Linked DNA regions of Homo sapiens: region 1 is linked to region 2. The links are contacts of gene promoters, found by promoter capture Hi-C in blood cells and fetal thymus (Javierre and others, 2016). All regions are on one chromosome and are shown on one strand. Each heading gives the region's core, a stretch centred on a gene start or on the middle of the fragment in contact. The rest is flanking DNA. Distances are from core to core; before and after follow the strand shown. Region 1 overlaps GABPB2 (GA binding protein transcription factor subunit beta 2). Region 2 holds the start of VPS72 (vacuolar protein sorting 72 homolog).

Region 1 (3,734 bases), core at 631-3,130, 96 kb after region 2:
TCTCCTGCCTCCATCACCCAAGTAGCTGGGATTACAGGCACCCACGACCAAGTCAGCTAATTTCTGTATTTTTAGTAAAGATGAGGTTTCACCATGTTGGCCAGGCTGGTCTTGAAGTCCTGACCTCAGGGGATTCACCCACCTCGGCCTCCCAAAGTGCTAGGATTACAGGCGTGAGCTACCATGCCTGGCCTAAATTCCTTCTTGAATTTGCCCTTTTCCTTTATCCTCCACTAGGACATGAAGTGTTCACAGCACGATAAAATTAAAGATAGGAAATAAAATATTACAATATTACATGATAAACAGACATCTAGTAAGTGCTATGGGAGCACAGAGGAGGGAAGAGTAGTACTGCTACGTGGCGAAATAGTAGCACTTCCTTGGTTCAAGTTCTCATTGGCCCTTGCCTGGCCTAATGAAAGTCACCGTATAGTTATTTAGCATTAAGTGTCTCTCTCATCTGTGTGCCACATTCCAAACAATCATCTTTTTAAACCAAATTTAGTCATATCAGTCCTCTATTTAAAAACTTCTATCCAAATGCATCGCCCACATAATAGTTCAAACTCCTTCACACGCTGTAAAGCATCCCTACATTCAGAATCCAGCCTAACTTTCAAGCTTAGCATCTGCCACTCCCAAACTCTACTTCCTTTGCCCATTCTCTCATCACTCAACTACTTTTTCTTGAACATTCCACGTTCTTTCACACCTCTGTGTCTTTGATTTGCTCTTTTTCTAGGCTAGAATATAGTTTTCTCACTTCTCTGCCTACTTCAATATTCAGTTCAGATTCCACTATTCCCTCCTTTGTGCTCCCATGGCACTTACTAGATATCTATTTATTATGCAATATTATAATATTTTCTTGCCTGTCTTTACTTTTATCATGCTTTCAACACTTCATGTCCTATTAATTTTTTTTTTTTTTTGAGATGGAATCCTGCTGTGTCACCCAGGCTCAAGTGCAGTGGCGCGATCTTGGCTCACTGCAACCTCTGCCTCCCAGGTTCAAGTGATTCTCCTGCTTCAGCCTCCCGAGTAGCTGGGATTACAGGCACACGTCACCATGCCCAGCAAATTTTTTTTGCATTTTTAGTAGAGACGGGATTTCACCATATTGGCCAGGCTGGTCTCGAACTCCTGACCTCAGGTGATCCACCTGCCTCGGCCTCCCAAAGTGTTGGGATTACAGGCATGAGCCACCACGCCTGGCCCATGTCCTGTTAATTTTTATATCCCCTGTCCTATTGTTCCCTGATGTACAGTGCTGGCTTAAGAAATTAATGGGCAGGCCAGGCGCAGTGGCTCACGCCTGTAATCCCAGCACTTTGGGAGGCCGAGGCAGGCGGATCACCTGAGGTCAGGGGTTCAAGACCAGCCTGGCCAAAATGGTGAAACCCTGTCTCTACAAAAATACAAAAATTAGCTGGGCATGATGGCAGGTGCCTGTAATCTCAGCTACTCAGGAGGCTGAGGAGGAAGAATCACTTGAATCCAAGCAGTGAGCCGAGATCGTGCCATTGCACTGGGCAACAGAGTGAGACTCTATCTCGGGGTCGGGGGTGGGAAACAGAAATTAATGGGACACAGCCGGCACAGTGGCTGACACTTGTAATCCCAGCACTTTGAGAGGCCAAGGCAGGTGGATCACCTGAAGTTAGGAGTTCGAGACCAGCCTGGGCAACATGGCGAAACCCTGTCTCTACTAAAAATACAAAAATAAGCTGGTCATGGTAGTGTGTGGCTATTGTCCCAGCTGCTCGGGAGGCTAAGGTGGAAGAATCCCTCAAACCCAGGAAATGGAGGCTGCAGTGAGCTGAGATCATGCCACTGCATTCCAGCCTGGGCAACAGAGTGAGACTCTGCCTCAAAAAAAAAAAAAAAAAAAAAAAAAAGGACGAAATCATCACAGTTAATTTTAAATTCTGAAGTGGCTTCCTTATCACTCAATATGCTTTAGAGCTTCATAGATAGTCCCCAATTTACAAGGGTTCAACTTACAATTTTTCAACTTTGCCATGGTGTGAAAGTGATCTGACTTATGATGGGGTTACACCTGCATAAACTCATCATAAATGGATCCAAAGTAACCCTATCATAAGTCAAGGAGCATCTGTATACTGTCTCACATCAGTTGATGAATATTCAGAAAACATCAAGTAACTTTTAATATTGTCCCAAGTCAAGTTTAATTAGAAAGGGAAATTTTCATGGAGAAAAAGACATTCTAAAGCCAAATAAATGTTTTTGGTACTAGCCACAACATGGTTCTTTAATCACCATGATTAATTCAGGGCTTTATAGAATATATATATTAAAAAATATATATAAAAAATATAAAAAATATATATGCGTATACATATATACACACAAATATATATTCTATACATAGCTGTATTTTAAAGATACTAATGACACTGAGTCACAAGATTGAGACATATTAGAAGTGCTACTTTAATAAAATAGGGAAAATTCAGTTTTGATTCAGCTCCTACAAAAAAATCCTTAACTTCAATTAACATACATTCTGGAGAGTATAAAAAGAACCACACCTGGAGGATGACCAAAATCTCAGCATTGTTTTTCTCCAGAGCTATGTCAAAGGCTGATTTATCAAATTTGCTGAAAGCATGGACATCAGCTCCATATTTGATAAGTAACTCTACGACATCTCGATGGTGGCGCTCTGTGGCCCAATGCAAAGCTGTCATCTTCAGCATGTCCTTGGCATTCACATCTGCACCATTCTGTCACAGAAAAGCATTTTTTTCAACAAACAGCGGTTATAGTAGCACAGGTGCAACATCCCATCATCAAATACAGAGGATTTCCATAGAGATTACGTACTCAAATCTAGATCACATTTAAGGAATATCAAAGGGAAAAACATTTCTCAAATTCTCCTAAATGCTGACAGACATAATGCTTTCAACGAGTGGGTCCTCTAAGGACATCAATGGGAAATTAAACAGATGGAAGACAAAGAGAGAAAGAACAGATTTTTGTTGCATTTATTAACAGAAAGCCAAGTGCCTGAATAAATAGGCATAAGTGCAGAGAATACCTTCAGGAACGGAAAGAAGAAAAATCAGTAAGTCTGTTTAGCCTTTAAAAAATTAGAAAAGCTTGAGCTCAGGAGTTCAAGATGAACCTGGGGAACATGGTGAAAAAACATGCCTCTACAAAAAATTCAAAACATTAGCCAGGCGTGGTAGTACATGCCCGTTGTCCCAGCTAAAGGGGAGGCTGAGGTAGGAGAATCTCTTGAGCCTGGGAGGTGGAGGCTGCACCACCACACTCTAGCCTGGGTGACAGAGTGAGACCACCGTCTCCAAAAAAAAAAAACAAAAACCATTAATAATAATAATAATAAATTGGAAAACTAGGCTGGGAGCAATGGCTCATGCCTGTAATCCCAGAACTTTGGAAGGCTGAGGATGGAAGGATCACTTGAGGCCAGGAGTCTGAGACCAGCCTGGTCAACGTAGTGAGATCTCATCTGTATTTTTTTTTTAAATATGATTTTAAAAAAATGGCTGGGTGCGGTGGCTCACGCCTGTAATCCCAGCACTTTGGGAGGCTGAGGCGGGTGGATCACGAGGTCAAGGGATGTAGACCATCCTGGCCAACATGGTTAAACCCCATCTCTACTAAAAATATAAAAATTAGCTGGGTGTGGTGGAGCACGCCTGTAGTCCCAGCTACTCCGGAGGCTGAGGCAGGAGAAT
Region 2 (3,656 bases), core at 359-2,858:
TCACCATGTTGGCCAGGATGGTCACAATCTCTTGACCTCGGGATCTGCCCGCTTCAGCCTCCCAAAGTGCTGGGATTACAGGTGTGAGCCACTGTGCCAGGCCCAATTTTGTCTTTTTTTTTTTTCTGAGACGGAGTCTTGCTCTGTTTCCCAGGCTGGAGAGCAAATGGCGCGATCTCGGCTCACTGCAACCTCCGCCTCCCGAGTTCAAGCAATTCTCTGCCTCAGCCTCTCGAGTATCTGGGATAACAGGCGCCCACCACCACGACCAGCTAATTTTTGTATTTTTAGTAGAGATGGGGTTTCGCCATCTTGGCCAGGCTGGTCGTGAACTCCTGACCTCATGATCCACCCCCTTCGGCCTCCCAAAGTGCTGGGATTACAGGTGTGAGCCACAATTTTGTGTCTTTTAACAAATCTTTCCCTGTCCCTTCCTTCCCCCTGCTCTTCCCAGCCTCCAGTATCCTCTGTTCTTTCACTTCTATGAAATCAACTTTTTAAAAGCGTCACATATGAGTGAGAACATGCAGTGTTTTAACTTTCTGTTCGTGGCTTAAGTCAGTTAACATGTCCTCCAGTTCCATCCATGTTGCTGCAAATGACAGGATTTTCTTCTTTTTAATGGCTGAAAAGTATTCCATTGTGTATATACACCCTATTTCCTTTATTCATCTGTTGTTGGACACAGAGATTGATTTCCTATTTTGGCTACTCTAAGTAGTGCTGCAATAAATATGGGGGTGCATAAATATGGAGTGCAGACGTCTCTTGGATATACTGATTTCCTTTTTTTTTTTCCTCCTAAATTGGCTTCCTCAGGTTGAATTATGTCCTTTCCTTTGGATAAATGTCTATGGCTGTGTTTTTAACCACAATACTATGCTTCCTTCCTCAAGGATTTTTGACTTTATCTTGTAGATGATGTGGAGCCATTAAAAATGTTTGAGGACAGGAGTGGCAAAACGTGGGTTTTTAGAAAGTTTCCTACTAGCAGCAGTGTAGAAAATGGACTGGAGCGGAGAGAATGACCTCTTCTAAAAGAAAATGTGAGCTGGGGGCGCAGGCTTATGCCTGTAATCCCAGCACTTTGGGAGGCCGAAGCGGGCGGATCACCTGAGGTCAGGAGTTCGAGACCAGCCTGGCCAACACGGTGAAAGCTGTCTCTACTAAAAATACAAAAATTAGTTGGGCATGGTGGCGGGCGCCTGTAATCCCAGCTACTCGGGGGACTGAGGCAGGAGAATCGCTTCAGCCCGGGGGACGGAGGTTGCAGTGAGCCGAGATCGTGCCACTGCACTCCAGTCTGGCGACAGAGCGAGGCGAGACTCCGTCCCTACGGAAAAAAAAAACCATATATATATATAAAATAAAAATAAATAAAATAAAATGTGTTGACTTAGGGTTATGGGGGTCTTCGTACCACCAAGTGGACTCATTGAGCAAGGGAGATCGCTGGGTACTAGAGCAAGCGGCCTAGAGCATCCGCGCAGGAGTAGGAGAGGCTGAAGAGTAAAGAGGGTTTAGAGGGTGGGACTGGGAGTCTCTCGACACTCTGTTACTTCTGCCTGTAAACGCCCGACTTCCGCCGCTGGTGGCCACCCGCAGGTAGTGATGTCGAGCGTCGAGCTCCCAAAACCGAGCTGGTGAGGGGCTGCAGGTGGCGGCGCAGTCTCGGTAGGCGGTATGAGTTTGGCTGGGGGCCGGGCACCCCGGAAGACCGCTGGGAACCGGCTTTCTGGGCTTTTGGAGGCAGAGGAGGAAGATGAGTTCTACCAGACGACTTATGGGGGTTTCACAGAGGCAAGATCCGGGCCTGGGAAAAGGGAGGGGAGGAGGCAAAGAGGAGCCCTGAAGGGAGAAACCCCGGACAAAGAAGAAGAGGGCGGGGAATAGAGAGGAGCTCTGGGAGCTGATACTCGAGTTGGGTGGGTGAATCGGAGCCGGGGGGCGAGGCGGGGGAACGGATAGTGTGGAGTCCTAGAAGGGAGAGCTCTGGATGGGGTCAAAGGGGCCTGAGACGGAGAAGCTCTCCGGAGGCACTCCAGAGAACAGAGAACGGCAGAAACCTACCGTATACTTGCGTGGTTGCATCTTTCACTGTACTTCTGACGTCCAGCATACACGAGGCACACACATAGTAGTAGACAGTTGCTCGATGTATACTCGTTGGCCCACTGCTGGATTATTCACCTGAGACATGGAAAGGAACCGCTCCAAAAGTAGAGGAGCTTAGCCCACTTCTTTTTCAGCTTTCAGGTCTCAGTGTAAATGTTTTCTCAGGAAGATAACCCTTCCTTGACTATCCTAACAAGTGTCCCCATTTATTTCTTCCACAGAACATATTTCAATTTGCAATTAGATTTGGTTTGCTTACTTGCTTATGCTTTTCTATTGCATTGTAAACTGTATAAAGTTAGAGATGGTCTGTTTTGTTCAACATTATGTGTGAGGTGTCCGGACTGGGCTGCCACTTGCTAAATTTTTATTAGTTGAATCTACCCGTTTATTAAATGTGTTGAGTACCCAGAGCATGCCATCGGTAATAGGTTGTTTTAGGCTCTAGGGAAACAGAATATTAAAAACAGTGCTCTGTCCTTACATACTCCATGCCCCAGTGGGGTAACTGCCTGGGTTAACAGTTAAAATACTGTGTGATAGGCCGAGCACAGTGGCTTTGGCCGGGCACAGTGGCTCACGCCTGTAATCCCAGCACTTTGGAAGGCCGAGGCGGGTGGATCACAAGGTCAGGAAATCGAGACCATCCTGGCCAACATGGTAAAACCCCCTGTCTCTATTAAAATACAAAAATTAGCCAAGCGTGGTGGTGTGCGCCTATAGTCCCAGCTACTCAGGAGGCTGAGGCAGAGAATCGCTTGAACCTGGGAGGAGGAGGTTGCAGTGAGCCGAGATCGTACCACTGCACTCCAGCCTGGGCGACAGAGCAGGACTCCGTCTCAAAAACAAACAAAAAATGTGTGATAAGGACTAAAACAAGGTGTAAGAGTGTTAAGGTAATACATCTGAACCAAAGTTGTTGATCAGGATAGGCATCCCTGGAGGGATGATGTTTAAGCTGAGGACAGTTTGAAAAGTAGACCTTAGCTTGATGAAAAGCAGGAGAAGGAGAAAGGTTAGTCCACAGAGCAGGATGGGCTGAGTATGTAAAGACATTGAGATCCTGGTCTAGGACCTGCAAGTCTACTTTCATTCTCCAGAGCATGAAGGAGACTAAAGATTGATAAGCCTGCAGGGAGTAGGCATGGGCCAGATCCTTTAGGGCCTTGTGAGCTATGTTAAGGAATTTTGCTCTTCATCCAGAGGACTGAGAAGAGTCATCAGAATTCCACGATGAAATTTGTACTTTAGGAAGGTTACTTACTCTGTAATGAGAATGGCTTGAAGGGGGCATGGCAGTAGAGAAACAGAAAGATTCAAGAGAAATTAAGGAATAGAACCCACAGGACTTAGGGGCTGGGTGTGGTGGCTCACGCCTGTAATTCCAGCACTTTGGGAGGCTGAGGCGGGTGGATCACGAGGTCAGGAGTTCGAGACCAGCCTGACCAACATGGTGAAACCCTGTCACTACTAAAAATGCAAAAAATTAGCTGGTTGTGGTGGCGTGTGCCTGTAATTCCAGCTACTTAGGAGGCTGAGGC

The links. Contacts are between HindIII fragments. The CHiCAGO score rates a contact against its expected background, and 5 or more counts as called.
Region 1: a fragment that was not itself captured here is called in contact with the fragment with the promoter of VPS72 in region 2 in 1 of 17 cell types (megakaryocytes); the score reaches 5.2 in megakaryocytes.

Annotation. Positions count from the first base shown.
Region 1 is chr1:151,092,211-151,095,944 of GRCh38, reverse strand. It overlaps GABPB2 (GA binding protein transcription factor subunit beta 2), which reads right to left. Exons shown (of 9, transcript NM_144618.3): 4 at 2,559-2,753. Among named protein-coding and RNA genes, the nearest start is that of GABPB2, 23 kb to the right of the region's middle. The HindIII fragment of the contact is 2,507 bases long and covers 627-3,133 here.
Region 2 is chr1:151,188,149-151,191,804 of GRCh38, reverse strand. VPS72 (vacuolar protein sorting 72 homolog) reads left to right here and starts at 1,608. Exons shown (of 6, transcript NM_005997.3): 1 at 1,608-1,800. The coding sequence starts at 1,684. RefSeq lists enhancers at 1,464-1,523, 1,564-1,633. The HindIII fragment of the contact is 16,139 bases long and covers 1-3,656 here.